Regions from separate parts of the Homo sapiens genome. Here region 1 is linked to region 2. Evidence: promoter capture Hi-C in 16 types of primary human blood cells and fetal thymus (Javierre and others, 2016). All regions are on one chromosome and are shown on one strand. Each heading gives the region's core, a stretch centred on a gene start or on the middle of the fragment in contact. The rest is flanking DNA. Distances are from core to core; before and after follow the strand shown. Region 1 has its middle 46 kb from the start of NTAQ1. Region 2 holds the start of KLHL38 (kelch like family member 38).

What was found. The method cuts DNA at HindIII sites, captures the fragments that hold promoters and counts their contacts. A CHiCAGO score of 5 or more calls a contact.
Region 1: a fragment that was not itself captured here is called in contact with the fragment with the promoter of KLHL38 in region 2 in 1 of 17 cell types (naive CD8 T cells); the score reaches 5.3 in naive CD8 T cells.

Annotation. Positions count from the first base shown.
Region 1 is chr8:123,458,715-123,466,158 of GRCh38, forward strand. It overlaps a transcript of NTAQ1 not described here. Among named protein-coding and RNA genes, the nearest start is that of NTAQ1, 46 kb to the left of the region's middle. The HindIII fragment of the contact is 5,920 bases long and covers 787-6,706 here.
Region 2 is chr8:123,650,056-123,656,473 of GRCh38, forward strand. It overlaps KLHL38 (kelch like family member 38), which reads right to left and starts at 3,746. Exons shown (of 4, transcript NM_001081675.3): 1 at 3,531-3,746; 2 at 1,522-2,872. The coding sequence starts at 2,871. The HindIII fragment of the contact is 6,101 bases long and covers 352-6,418 here.

The DNA.
Region 1 (7,444 bases), core at 2,497-4,996, 190 kb before region 2:
GGGTCACACCATTCTCCTGCCTCAGCCTCCCGAGTAGCTGGGACTACAGGCGCCCGCCAGCACGCCCGGCTAATTTTTTGTATTTTTAGTAGAGATGGGGTTTCACCGTGATAGCTAGGATGGTCTCGATCTCCTGACCTCGTGATCCACCCGCCTCGGCCTCCCAAAGTGCTGGGATTACACGCGTGAGCCACCTCTATTAAAAATACAAAAAAATTAACTGGGCATGGTGGCATGCCTGCAGTCCCAGTTACTCCGGAGGCTGAGGCAAAAGAATTGCTTGAACCCAGGGGGCGGAGGTTGCAGTGAGCCGAGATCGTGCCACTGCACTCCAGCCTGGCAACAGAGTGAGACTCCGTCTCAAATAAATAAAATAAAATGAAAAAATTAGCCAGATGTGGTGGTGTGTGCCTGTAGTCTCAGCTACTCAGGAGGTGGGAGGATCTGTTTGAGCCCAGGACGTCGAGGCTGCAGTGAGCCGTGATTATGCCACTGCACTCCAGCCTAGGTGACAGAGTGAGATCCTGTCTCAAAAAAAAAAAAAGATGTAGATGAACAGCCAGATGAAGAGATCAGGTGTGGAAGGGTCCTGAGTGCAGGAGCTTCTGTCCCCATGGAGTTGGGGTGCACCACCCTCCCAGCACATGGACGTGTTCTGCTATCCGGAAGCTCTCTGAACCCCATAGTTCAGTACTTCGGCTTCATCAGGTAGGCATGATGGAAGATTAATTCAGTCTCTAGCCCTTCCCCATCTCTAAAGAATGGAGGATGGGGCTGAAAGCTCCAAGCTTCTAATCATTGCTTAGTCTTTCCAGTGAGCAGCCCCTGTCCAGGAGCTCACCAAGAGTCCCCTTATTAGAAAAAAAGATGTTCCTCAGAAAAATTCCAAGGGATTCAGGAACTCTAAGTCAGGTGTTCCTATTACTCAGGAAATCAAAGGTTTAAGAGCTCTGTCTCAGGTACCTGGGGCAGAGACCCAATAATTCCAACAAAAGTTTCTCCTAGAACCCCTATTGCTCAGGAAATCACAAGGGTTTTCGAAGCTCTGTGCCAGGAACTTGGGGTGGAGACCAATATACATCATTCTTTTTTTTTTTTTTTTTTTTGAGATGGAGTTTCACTCATTGCCCAGGCTGGAGTGCAATGGCACGATCTCAGCTCACCGCAACCTCCGCCTCCTGGTTCAAGCGATTCTCCTGCCTCAGCCTCCCAAGTAGCTGGGATTACAGGAATGCGCCACCATGCCTGGGTAATTTTGTATTTTTAGTGGAGACGGGGTTTCTCCATGTTGATCAGTCTGGTCTCGAACTCCCAACCTCAGGTAATCCGCCTGCCTCGGCCCCCCAAAGGGCTGGGATTACAGGCATGAGCCACTGCGCCCAGCCCAATGTACGTGATTTTTATTTCACAGCAGATATCTCTTGATTTCTTTAAAAAAAAAATCTTAAATAGTACCTTGAGAGAACCCCTAATGACAGATAATATGTATGGAGTACTCATTTTGTGCCAGGCACTGCTCAAAACTACTTATTGGGCATGAAATTATTAGTCCTTACAATAACCTTATGAAGTAGGAATGATTATTATCCTTATTTTTCAGATGAAGAAATGGGAGTGGGCAACTTGCCCAAAGTAGCACAGTTAATATGTAAAGGAATGTGATTTGAACCTGGGCCTGACTCCAGAATCACTACACCATAAAGTGGAGATTCAGTCACACTGGAATAAATCCAAAGGCAAAATGAGGGCATTGCTTCTTGTGCTGGTCTTGGGTCTAAGGAGGGGCATATTGCAGAGGTGAGAGCCAAGGGGAAAAGATGGAGTGGGCTGTCTGTGGCACACGGGATGTCTTTACTACTGGACAGCCTTGAACCACAAGATGTGATGTAGGGCTGAATCTTGTAGGAAAAAAGCGGTCAGGGTAAGCTCTTCAACATCAGATGTGAGAAGACCAGCGTTTTGCAGTGTCCTTTGGCTGTGGTGGACAGGTTTGGGCTGGCAGAAGGGTCAGTGGAGACCAGCTGGGGGAGACCTGCATGCAGTGGCAGGGGGTTGGGAGTGAAATGAGGGAAGAATGGACTTGGTAGGTTTGGTTTGACGACGTAGTGGAGTTTGTATTGGCTGAACGTTGCAAAGGAAGCAAGGAGAGAATAATAACATGCGCCAGCATCCAGAGATGAGTTGAGGAGGCGTGCCGTCTGACTTCTACATTCAGGCACATTTCACACTTCTGTCAGGTACTCTGCTCTGAGCTTTTGGAATCTTTCTTTCATGTATTCCTCCGTACAGTGTTTGCAGGTGGTGTATGGATGCTGTCAATCCCTGCTTTCCATAGGCACCCTCCTTACTATTCCTTGCCTAAGTGACCTAACACACTTGGTCCTGGCTTGGGCAGGCGGGAAGCATGGAGTTAATACATTCTGGAGCAGCCTTCAGCCCTGATGGGTGGGAGTAGGTGGATAAGTGGCTTAGCTTTCTTGCTCCTTGGAGGGTACAACTCTGGGCTAGACGCTGCACCATCTCCCAGGGTCCCCAGCAGCCTTGGTCCCCAGCTGCCCACAACAGCCTATCCTCTTGGCACCTGCTCAGTGACCTGGCTGGCTTCCTTGTTCCTTGACTCACGTCCCCACTCCCTACTGGTGTTTCCTAGGATCACCTACCAAATAAACAACTTCTACCGAATTTCCTGTCTCAAGGCATGCATTGGGGAAACTCAACCCAATGCAGTTTCCAGATGATAATATCTACACCCCGAGAGGTTATTTCACTTGCTCAAGCTCACATATCCAGTATGTAACAAATCTAGGACTTTAGCCCAGCTTTCCTTAGCCCCAGCCTGGTGTTGTCTTCTGCTCTACCATGCTTAGTATCTGCTATAATGACACCCTAGGTCCTTTCACATGTTGGGCTTTCCTGCAGGAGTCTGGCCTATTAGACCATAAACTCATAAAAAGCAGAACTATGACCTTGATAACTTTGTATATTCAAGAACAGCAGGAACTGTGTCTTTCAGCGAGTAGATGCTTAATAAGGATTTATTGAAAGGAAAGGAGATAGAGCAAGAGGAAGTATGTGAGGGGAAGAGGAGATGGGAGCATGAAATTGGGGCAGAGGAGAGAGACTCTTGTGCTCCTTCTTGACATGGGGCACAAGAGTGACTTGCTTTGGAGGAGGCTATGGCTAGAGTGTCACAGGCAAAAGCCCAGGAGGCCCACGGGTGAGCAGAAAATTACAGAACTTAAAAAATCATTTTTCTTGGAAATAATGTGTGAGACAGGGAAATCTAGTGAAAAAATATTTTTCAGTGCATGTATCCCTAAAAGGGAGGTTTTCTTTTTAAAAATTTTTTTTAAGACAGTCTCGCTGTGTCACCCAGGCTGGAGTGCAGTGGCGTGATCTCAGCTCACTACAACCTCCTCCTCCCAGGTTCAAGCGATTCTCATGCCTTAGCCTCCCGAGTAGCTGGGACTACAGGTGCATGCCACCACGCCTGGCTAATTTTTTTGTATTTTTAGTATAGAAAGGGTTTCATCATGCTCTCCAGGTTGGTCTTGAACTCCTGACCTCTTGTGATCTGCCTGCCTCAGCTTCCCAAAGTGTTGGGATTACAGGCATGAGCCACCGTGCTGGGCCTGTGTTTTGTTTTTAATATGAGATTAGTTATTATAACTTTGTAGAAAGAACATTGGGTGGATTTTCTCAGCAGAGTTAAGTCTACAACTCAGATACTCTAGGGCAGTAGTTTTTGAAGTACACAAGGCACTAGGACTTCTAAGGCACTCTCTTAGAAGCCTCCTCAAAAAGAAGGAGATGATAATAATTGATTACTACTTATTGAATTCTAATTAGACCATGTGCCAAGCCCCATGCTAAGTCTTGGTCTGTGTTATCTCATTTAATCCTCTTTGATATGAGTCCTGTTATCATTCCCACTTCACAGATTACGAAGCGGACACTCAAAGAGGTCCCCCAGCTAGTAAGTGGCCAAAGTGGGATTCATTTGACTGTTTGACTCCAGAGCTCATGCATTCATGGGCATGGCTACAGGTACCCTTCTCTTCACTCCTTCCCCAAGCATGCCCCCAATTCACCAGAATTGAAACTCAAGATTTTGACACCATAGAGAGCAAACTGGGGAACAGGAACTACACTGTTGGTTAGGACTTGGGAGAAGATAAATTAAAAAGTCTGACACTTTGATCACGTTCTGTAAAAGTCTTGGGGCTTTGCTTTCCCACTGTGAAGGGCATTTTGAAATACATCTTAATGAATGCATTCTGCTCTCTTGGTACACCAGGGGGAGCATTTAGTACAGGAATGGGAATACGGTGGCTCCAGGAAGTGACTATTCCTGCTCTTTGTAGGGAAGAACACTTTTTCTTTCTCTCTTTCTCACTGAAAAACACATTTTTCTGTTTGAACAGTTTGAAAGCAAGTTGCAGATATCATGAGACTTCACCTATAAATACTTCAGAAGGATTTCCTAAGAAAGATATTCTTCTGCTTTATGATGATATTATTATCACGTCTAAGAAACTTAACATTGATGCAACAATGATGTCTAATATGTGGTCTGTATTCAAACTTCTCCAGATATCCCCAAGATGTTCTTTATTGCTTTTTTTGGTTTCAATCCAAAATAAATTTTGTGTTCTCTTAATATTAGATCACAGTTATTCTTCTGGAATATTTTGCTGTGAAATGCTTATACTTTTTACCGTCTATTGAATAACTCATAAAGTTGATTTGCCATGCTTTATTAAGTTTCTCTTTGATTGATATTGTTTATTCCTATTATAAGTATACCATGATGTTAAGTGGGACTTCCCATTTCTCAGTTTTGACTCAGGCACCAATTAAATAGATATCAGAATCCAAAGTGAGTGTGAGATTGACGTGGTATACAGAATTCATCAAGTGTCACAGGTTAGGTTCCTCGTAAAAGGCTCTTGATGGACATTTGTATGGAGGCAGTTTATTGGGGGAGTGTTTGGGGCTCAGCAGCTAAGGGGGAAGAAAGGAAGCAGGATGAGACACAGGGAGGTGTTGAACTGTGATGCAATCCCTACTCAGCCAATCCCCAGAGACCTCTAGAGCTGGGATGGTGATATTTGGTTGTGTCCCCACCCAAATCTCATCTTGAATTGTAGCTGCCATAATTCCTACTTGTCGTGGGAGGGACCTGGTGGGAGGTAATTGAATCATGGGGGCATGTCTTTCCTGTGCTGTTCTCATGATAGTGAATACATCTCACGAGATCTGATGGTTTTATAAAGGGGACTCCCCCGCACATGCTGTCTTGCCTGCCGCCATGTTAAGACGTGACTTTGCTTTTCCTTCACCTTCCACCATGATTGTGAGGCCTCCCTAGCCATGTGGAACTGTGAATCCATTAAACCTCTTTCCTTTATAAATTATCCTGTCTCAGGTATGTGTTTATTAGCAGTGTGAGAACAGACTAATAGAGATGGTCTTGCAGAGTTGTTCCCTTCTGGAGCAAGGAGGCTGGGTCTTTATACCCCTAAAGGGACCAGTCAATGGATGCAGGTTGCCCCTGGGACAGAGATGTGATCACGGTAACTCCCTTCAGCTTAGAGCAATTTTCAGAGAGACTTGGAATAGAAATGAGGGCCTGAAGGGGATATTTGGGCAGGGACCACAGCATCCATAACAGCAGGGAAATGCTCGTGAACATGTTGCCTAACCCTGGATGCCCTCAGACTGAATACACGAGAGGTCAGAGTGGCAGCGGCATGAGGAGGAGGAAGGGTAGAGAGACGCCACTGGAGAGAGCATTGCCAGGCTGTGCCTCCACTCTCCCTCCCCAGGGGTAAGGGCCAGGAGTGCTACCACCTTCACCTCAAGGGTACGATGGGGGCTCTGATAGGACCACATATTTAACTTACATATTTCCTATGGTTGAGAAATATGTAACTGGCTAGAGTGGCCTGTGGCAGCAGGACACAGAGGGCTGGGTTTGGTCCTGTGTTCCCAGGGTTTGTTGGGGCAAGAGATGAGAGAGTGTTTCCTGGGACTTAAATGTGGGCCCTTGGCTGGGCACTGTGGCTCACGCCTGTAATCTCAGCACTTTGGGAGGCGGATCACTTGAGGTCAGGAGTTCGAGACCAGCCTGGCCAACATAGTGAAACCCTGTCTCTACTAAAAATATAAAAATTAGCTGGGTGTGGTATCATGCGCCTGTAATCCTAGCTACTTGGAAGGCTGAGGCACGAGAATCACTTGAACCTGGGAGATGGAGGTTGCAGTGAGCCCAGATCACACCACTGCACTCCTGCCTGGGCAACAGAGACAGATTCTGTCTCAGGAAAAAAAAGTGTGGGCCCCAGGGGAGAGACGATACTGAGCCAGAGCCATTTTTAAAACCCTTTTATTTTGAACGAATTTAAGACTCAGAAGAAATTGCAAAAATAAAAGGGAGTTCCATGTACCCTTCATCTGGCTTTCCCCATTGATAATGTAGAACCACCGTACATTTTCAAAACTAGGAAATTGACATTGACATTGACACAATACTGTGAACTAAACTATAGACCTTGATTTTCATGAATTTTGACATGCTCTTGTGTGTGCATGTGTATAAACAGTACTGTGAAATCTTGTCACACATATAGATATGTGTAATCACTACCAAAACAAGGACACCGTCACCAGCTTCCGTCACTGCAGAGAAACTCCCTCATACTAAAGCTTTGTAGTCAGGCCCTCCTGCCAACCCTAACCCCTGGCGACCACTCATCTGTTCTCTATCACCAGAATTTTGTCATTTTAAGAGTGTTCTGTAAATGGAATTGTATAGTACGTACCCTTTTGAGATTGCTTTTTTCACTCAGCATAACATCTTTTTTTTTTTTTTTTTTTTTTTTTGAGACAGAGTCTTGCTCTGTCACTCAGGCTGGAGTGCAGTGGCACGATCTTGGCTCACTGCAAACTTTGCCTCCTGGGTTCAAGCAATTCTTGTGCCTCAGCTTCCTGAGTAGCTGGGATTACAGGCGCCCGCCACCATGCCAGGCTAATTTTTGTGTTTTCAGTAGAGATGGGGTTTCACCATGTTGCCCAGGCTGGTCTCGGAACTCCAGGGCTCAAGCGATCCACCCACCTCGGCCTCCCAAAGTGTTGGGATTACAGGTGTGAGCCACTGCACCCAGCCAGCATGACATCTTTGAGTTCCATCCATATTGTTGCCTGTGTCAGTAGTTCATTCTTTCTCTATAACTTAGAGTTGTATTCTGTTGTATACCCATTCACAGTTTGTCATTCTGCATGAAAGTCATTTTAAATCCTGTCCAAGAGGACCCTCTGGGAGGGTGAGAGGAAGCCAAAGAGTGAAGTCTGAGTGGACGGGATTGCCAGAGAACCAGGGGCTGAGGGCAATAGCAGCTGGAATGGAATGCTTCTCCCTTGTTCTGAGAATTACAACTGGAGA
Region 2 (6,418 bases), core at 2,496-4,995:
CACCCACCCCACCCCTCCCCCTCCTCTTTTATTCTCCATCCCCACCTTCCTCTCTCCTCTCCTGCCCCTCTGCTCAAGTCAGCTTCAGCCAACTTCACAGGGTTTGCTCCAACATTCCCTTAACCCTGGCACTCTCTCTGATTCTCTCTGGACCAGCGGTGTCCAATCTTTTGGCTTCCCTGGGCCACATTGGAAGGAGAGTTGTCTTGGGTCACACATAAAGCACACTAACACAAATGATAGCTGATGAGCTAAAAAAAATCGCTAAAAAAAATCTCATCATGTTTTAAAGTTTATGAATTTGTGTTGGGCCGCATTCAAAGCTGTCTTGGGCTGTATGCGTGTTGGGCAAGCTTGCTCTAGACTGGTTTAGGGCATCCCGCCTGTGCTCTTAGAGCACCCCTCTCTTCAGCGTCTGAATTGCAACTGAGGGTTATGTGTAAATTGCTGGGTCTCCAGGCCCTTCACAATGGTTGATGTTCAACATAACTCTCATAGATGAGCAAAGTACATCTCGTGGATGCTTCTGATTGTCTGTAAAGGCAGGCTCAATATTCACGTTCTGCAGAGATTACCAGGAACTTGCATAAAGCTGGAAAACACTTAATATTCTGAAATGTGGCCTTTATTGAGCATACTTCTCAGACAGCTTGTTAGTGAAATTAATGTCTGCCGATCATTAAAAGTAGGGGTTTCCCAACCTGGCTGCAACTTAGAGTCTCCTGGGGACTTTTGTAAACCATACATTTTAGGATCTCACACAAAGATATTTTGATTCAGTGATGTGAGGTCAGGTTCCAGGGGATTTGGTCACAGAGGTGTGGACCAAGGCTTGGGAATCTTCTTTTAAGGCCTTACTGACTTGAGTTAGAAGCACCTGCCAAATTCCTATGGGACTTCACTATCTGACTTTCAATATGCTGTATAATAACTTGAATTTTTAGATATATATTTTTCTCATCAAATGAAGATAAACTCTGTGCATAGGGATGGTATTTGATATCCTTTGTTATGTATTATTTTTGCACAAAAAAATTCATAAATTGAAAAATATCTTGCTGAAAATCCTTCTTCCCTCCCTCCCTTCCTCTCTTCCTTCCTTGCAAATAACAAGTGTTGGTATGTGTGTACATGGGTGCACATGTGTGTGCATGTATGCATGTACGTATTTGTGTTCGTGCATATGTATAAATGTGTGCATGCATGTGTAGATATATGTAAATGTGTGTATGCATGCATGAATTGTATATGTGTATGCATGTGCACACGTATGCATGTTGGCATCTGCATATATGTGTGCATATGTGTATGCATGTATGCATGAATATACATTTCTGCATATATGTGTGCACGCATGTATGCATATGTGTGTTTGTGTATATGTGTGCATATATATATTTATGTGCATATATGTGTTTTTTGGTGTGTATGTATACATGTGCATGTGTGTGCAAGCAGGTGTGGGTGTGTCCAAGCACACATACTCATGCAGTTACGTGATGGGAAGAACCGGCCATTTACCTGGATAAGGCGCACAGGGTTCTGCATGATGTCCTCTCCTCCAAAGAGATAGAGTCTTTGGTCTTTCACAGCGACTGCGGGGTGGAGCACCCCCACGGGCATGCTGGCCATACTCTCCCAGACATTGCAGATGCTGTCATACCTTTCCATGGAGCCCATGAGCTCCTGCCCTTCTCCAATCCCCCCGATGGAGAAGATGAAGTTCTTATGGGCAGTGCTTCTGTGGGAGTAGCGGGCCACCAGCATGGGCTCCCCCAGCCTCCACTGATTGAGTTTCAGGGAGAAGATGTAGACATTGTGACTGACCAGACTCCTCCCTGAGCTGACAGCCATGCCCCCCAGCACATAGATGCTGCGGTGCAAGGTGATGGCAGAGGCCTTGTACAGCCGTGTCGGGAGTTTGGCAAGGCTCTGCCATTGGCCGGTCTGTTTGCTGTACAGTAGGACGTCCCTGGTGGTCTGCTGGCTGTCCTTCCTTCCGCCCAAGAGGATGAGGAAATCTTGGTAAGAGTTTCTTGGAGGGACATGCAACAGGAGTTTGCAGTCTGGGACGGTGGTGCCACACAAAGAGAACATCTGTCTCTTGGCGGTCTCCAAGATGATCTGGCATGCAGGCGAGGACTGCAGGAGGGCATCGTTGGCGATGAAGTGGTGAAAGAAGGCTGGGTGGATGTACTGCAGCCTGACCTGCTTGAACAGTTCCTGCATGTATCGCTTCCGGGCCTGGAGGTCATGCTTGATCCAAACCATGAGGGCCTCAAACACCTTTTCCTCCTCCCCACAGAGCCCATCATCTCCGAGATAGTCCCTCAACTCCAAGGCACAGAGCTCCTTCAGGTCGGCCGATGCGGCCACCTCTGGGAAGGACGTCAGTGCCACCTCCCTGGCTTTCTTCTTGAGGGTCTCGCAGCTTAAGATTTCTGAGAGTCTGATCATACCCAGGCAGTTGCTGGGGGCCAACTGGCTCTGCAAGTACGAGGAGCAGGCCTCAAACAGCTTGGGGAACTGTAGCATGGAGGCGGCCTCCATCACGGGGAGGACATTGTCAGTGGCAATATGTGCCTCCCCCGTATACACGTAGGAGACGATCTGGTCCAGGGTTGGGGGGTCAATGCCTTTCAGCTGCACTTTGGCTTCACTCTTCTCCCGGAAGCTGCTGCAGAACATAGCCCTGAAGTAGGGGCTGCTGGAGGCCAGCACGTTGCGGTGGCAGGGGATCTCCCGGGCACCGGCACAGATGCTCACATCAGTCAGGATCCTGCTTTGCCTTAAGCTGTTGAGCTGCCTCAACAAGTCAGAAGAGAAGTCGTGGTCTTTGAAGAGCAGCCCATCTAGTGACTCCTCGTCCATCCTACAAAGAGGGAAGGAAGCCCCCAGAGTCAGCAAGAGTCAAACCTTTCTCAGCTGCATGTGCTGGAGGGTTCAGCTGTGGGGACTCCAAGACCAGTGCTCCTATTCCATTCCCCATGATGTTTGCGGATGTCACCATGGATATTGTGTAGGGAAGATTGGAAAGGAAGGCCACATACATCTCAGACCTGAGCCCTTTTGGGTTATGGTTATTTTCAAAAGTAATAGGCAAATAGTATCTTCAGCTAATCTGAGAGAAACAACCAAACAAACAAACTAAAGTTGTTGGAAGTTACTCTGTTATCAGAAGCTGAAATGTTAGTCTGAAGCAAGATAACAGTCCATGGATTTGACCAGCAGAAGTTCATGAGCCTTTTTCCAGATCGATGGCATATCTGTTATTGAGTAACAGATGTCTAAACCTCTCTTTCTGGGTGTCAATCATTCCCCAAGGATGATATTCTGGAGGTGTGGCCCTCTGGTCACTGGACAGAAATGAGGGAAGAAAATGGACCTTTGATGCATATATTTAAATATGACTTCATTGAGTCTTGTTTTAAAGATAGAATAAATAAAAGGAAAGACCAAACAATCCCCTGGTTTATTGGATGACACCTGGTTTTCTACTTGCAGAAGAAATAAGTATGAGGGACACTTACCTTGTTTTGCTGCGGTGACATCCACTGGTGCCTGGTCTGACTTATCCCCCCGGAGAGTTTCTACCTCTAGCTCCAAGGGAAACCATAAACCCCAGGCCTTTCTTTCAGTTGGCAAATGATTTGTCCTGGGAGATTTCTGGATTTGTTTATGCTGAAGGCACTTTCATAGTTTTCTAGAGCTTTGTGCAAGGACTGCTGGGCAGGGAGACAGTGTATACATTCCAGGGCTAAGAATAGTTGCATATGTACTTTCCACTGTTATGACATGTGACTTTCCAGTTGCCTTTTGCAGCAACCCGAGGGCCTGCAGGGCCGGCGCATGCCCACATGCCTCGTTTCCTTGGCAAGTGTTTACATCGGCAAAAATAGATCGGGAGGAGCGGCTTCTCTTAGAGAAGACTTTGCTGTCTGCTTGGAACCATCCCGAGTCCCCTGTCCTAAAAGTGCTTGGGAATTCTAGCCGTCTGTAAACAGGTTGCTGTGACCTGTGGAGAGTCACTGAAGATGGTTCTGGGCCACAGTGGAGGTGGCAGGTGGTCACAAGGGAAGCCGGAACATGAGCCTGTGGGTGCTATTCAATGGATCTCTATTTCCCACCATCTGCCTGGCGGGATCGCTGGGGAGAGCTGTGATTTCCTCCTCCAGGATCCTAGGTGATGAAATCCATGACAAAAGTTGTTGTTTTTTGTTGTTGTTGTTGTTGAGCATCCCAGGGTTTCCAGACTCCTGAAGGCCCAAACCTTTGTCAGGTCTCCTTACTCAGGAACCTCTGATTGACAGTGGTAAGGCCGAGCTCCTCCTGTCGCGTCTGCCTCTCCCAGACACGTGCTGATTGCTCTTCAGCTGGCTTTTTATAGTTCAGACTTCCTTTTCTGTCTTACTTTTCCATTTTGTCTTGTCTGGCAGCTTGAGCTAGAGGCAGGAGGCAAGGCATATTGCTTTAGGGAGAGAGAGAAAGAAGATGAAGGAGGATGAGGAGGAAGAAGAAGCAGGGACAGAGGGAGGGAGAGAGACGAGAGGAGGAAGAAGAGGAGGAGGAATAGGAGGAGGAGGAAAAGAAGCAGGAGGTAGAGAATCGGGGGAGGAATGATGATAGTGATGTGGTAGGAGGCAGCTTTCAATAACAATCAGAATCACGAGAGAGAGTGAGGGGGACCTCAGGTCTGTTCTGCCCCTGCCTTCAGGGAGGTCCATGATTGTCTTAGCCACAAAAGGCAGGGAAGCCTGACTTTGTCTCCTACTCAACGTCTTGCTCAACTAGTGCAATGGTCTTCCATGCATTTTTTTTTCTTTGCTCCTAGTACTTCTCTCTCCAATACATCCACCCTGTCTTCTCTGGAGCAGCCCCTGGGAAGGCAACTCAGAATTTGCCAGTCCCCAGCATCAGGCCCTTCAGTGGCTCCCCATGTCTGCAGGACTCCTTAGCCAGAATCGGACTGGTGTCCTGTCTGCTTCTGGAACCATGTCTACTGCCACTCATGTGTGGTAATCTAGCTCCATGAGACACTTACAGATCCTTGTATGCATCTGGTCACTGTTGGGGAAGCTGGGCTGGCCTGGCCTTTGGGACACCACAGGGCAGGGTGGAAGGAAGAGGGTTTCTCATTCACAGTTGCCGATCGTAGAGTGGATTATGCCCAAAAGAGTCCAGAAGGTCAAGGCCAGGGAAATGGATCCAAAACATGTTACTGGGGCCATGGGCCTGGAGGCCAGAATTAGGAGCAGGAGGCCTAAGCTAAGGGGGTCAGAGACCCATGGAGGCACAAGCAGGGAGCAGGTGAGAGGAGCTGTTCCTCCATATGTCCGAGTTGGTGAGCTGTGCTGGTGACATAATAAGTGAGTAGCCACATTCCTGAAAGAGCCCAGGGATCCTCTGATTCGTACTCTATCCCTTTCTATGAGCTCTTCCCCTCTGCTCACTCTATCATTTTCACTGTTTCTGTTCGTCTTCCAAAACTTGGTTTATGTATCACTTCTCTGCAAGTCTTTTTACCCCTCTCTAAGACACTTAACTTCACACTCCTCTGTGCAGTTTCCATTCTTCTACATGCCTCTAATGGCATGCCTCATACCTCACTGAGATTATGTTTACTTCCCTGTGTCTCTCTTATTAGAGTGGAAGTCTCTGGGCAGCAGGAATCTTGACTTCATTGTAGCTCTACTCCTAGCACCCAGCACAGGGCCTGGCTTATAGGGGGTGAATTTCATACACTTCCTGCATTGAGCTGGAACAGAATGGGGAATGGGGAAAGAGAGGGAGCTTTGCTGGGTGGACTTCACACCACTGTCTGCTGTGCCGGTTTTGCAGAGCTGCCATGTATGGCTTACTGCGTAGACTGCCCTGCAAATATGCTCTGGAGCAGCCCTGATTATCCACATAATCAAATCCAATAATGTGATGAAGTGAAAAGTAAAACACTTGTTTTATACTGCAGTGCAAGACTTAAGTTCAGGCTGGGAACTGAACTGAGGTCCTCCCAACGCCAAAGCTAGCATTCTTGTCCTTGACCTCGGAGTGAACATGAGGAAGAAATAACTTCCTTAATGCTCTGAAACACCTGCATGATTTCTCTTCCAGGCAGCAAGCAAGCCAAGGATTTATTCTGAGGGTAATAGGTAGGGGATCCTAGGAGTGAATTAACACAGCACCGTTCCCTGGGAAGGATGTTGGATTTTCCCCTACATCCCCTTACTAATTAAACTTTCTGGAATCCAGCTCTGTCAATTGTTCAGATAGACCTTGGTGTGCAGCATCAATGTCTGACCAACTTTACTAAATCTTTTGGTTTCTAATGTTTAGAAAAAATAGGCCCTGTTTTGTTGGCCTGGCCTACCAGGAGGATCCTGGTTCTAGGTCAGATGTCAAATGTCAAGACACAGAGTCTTAG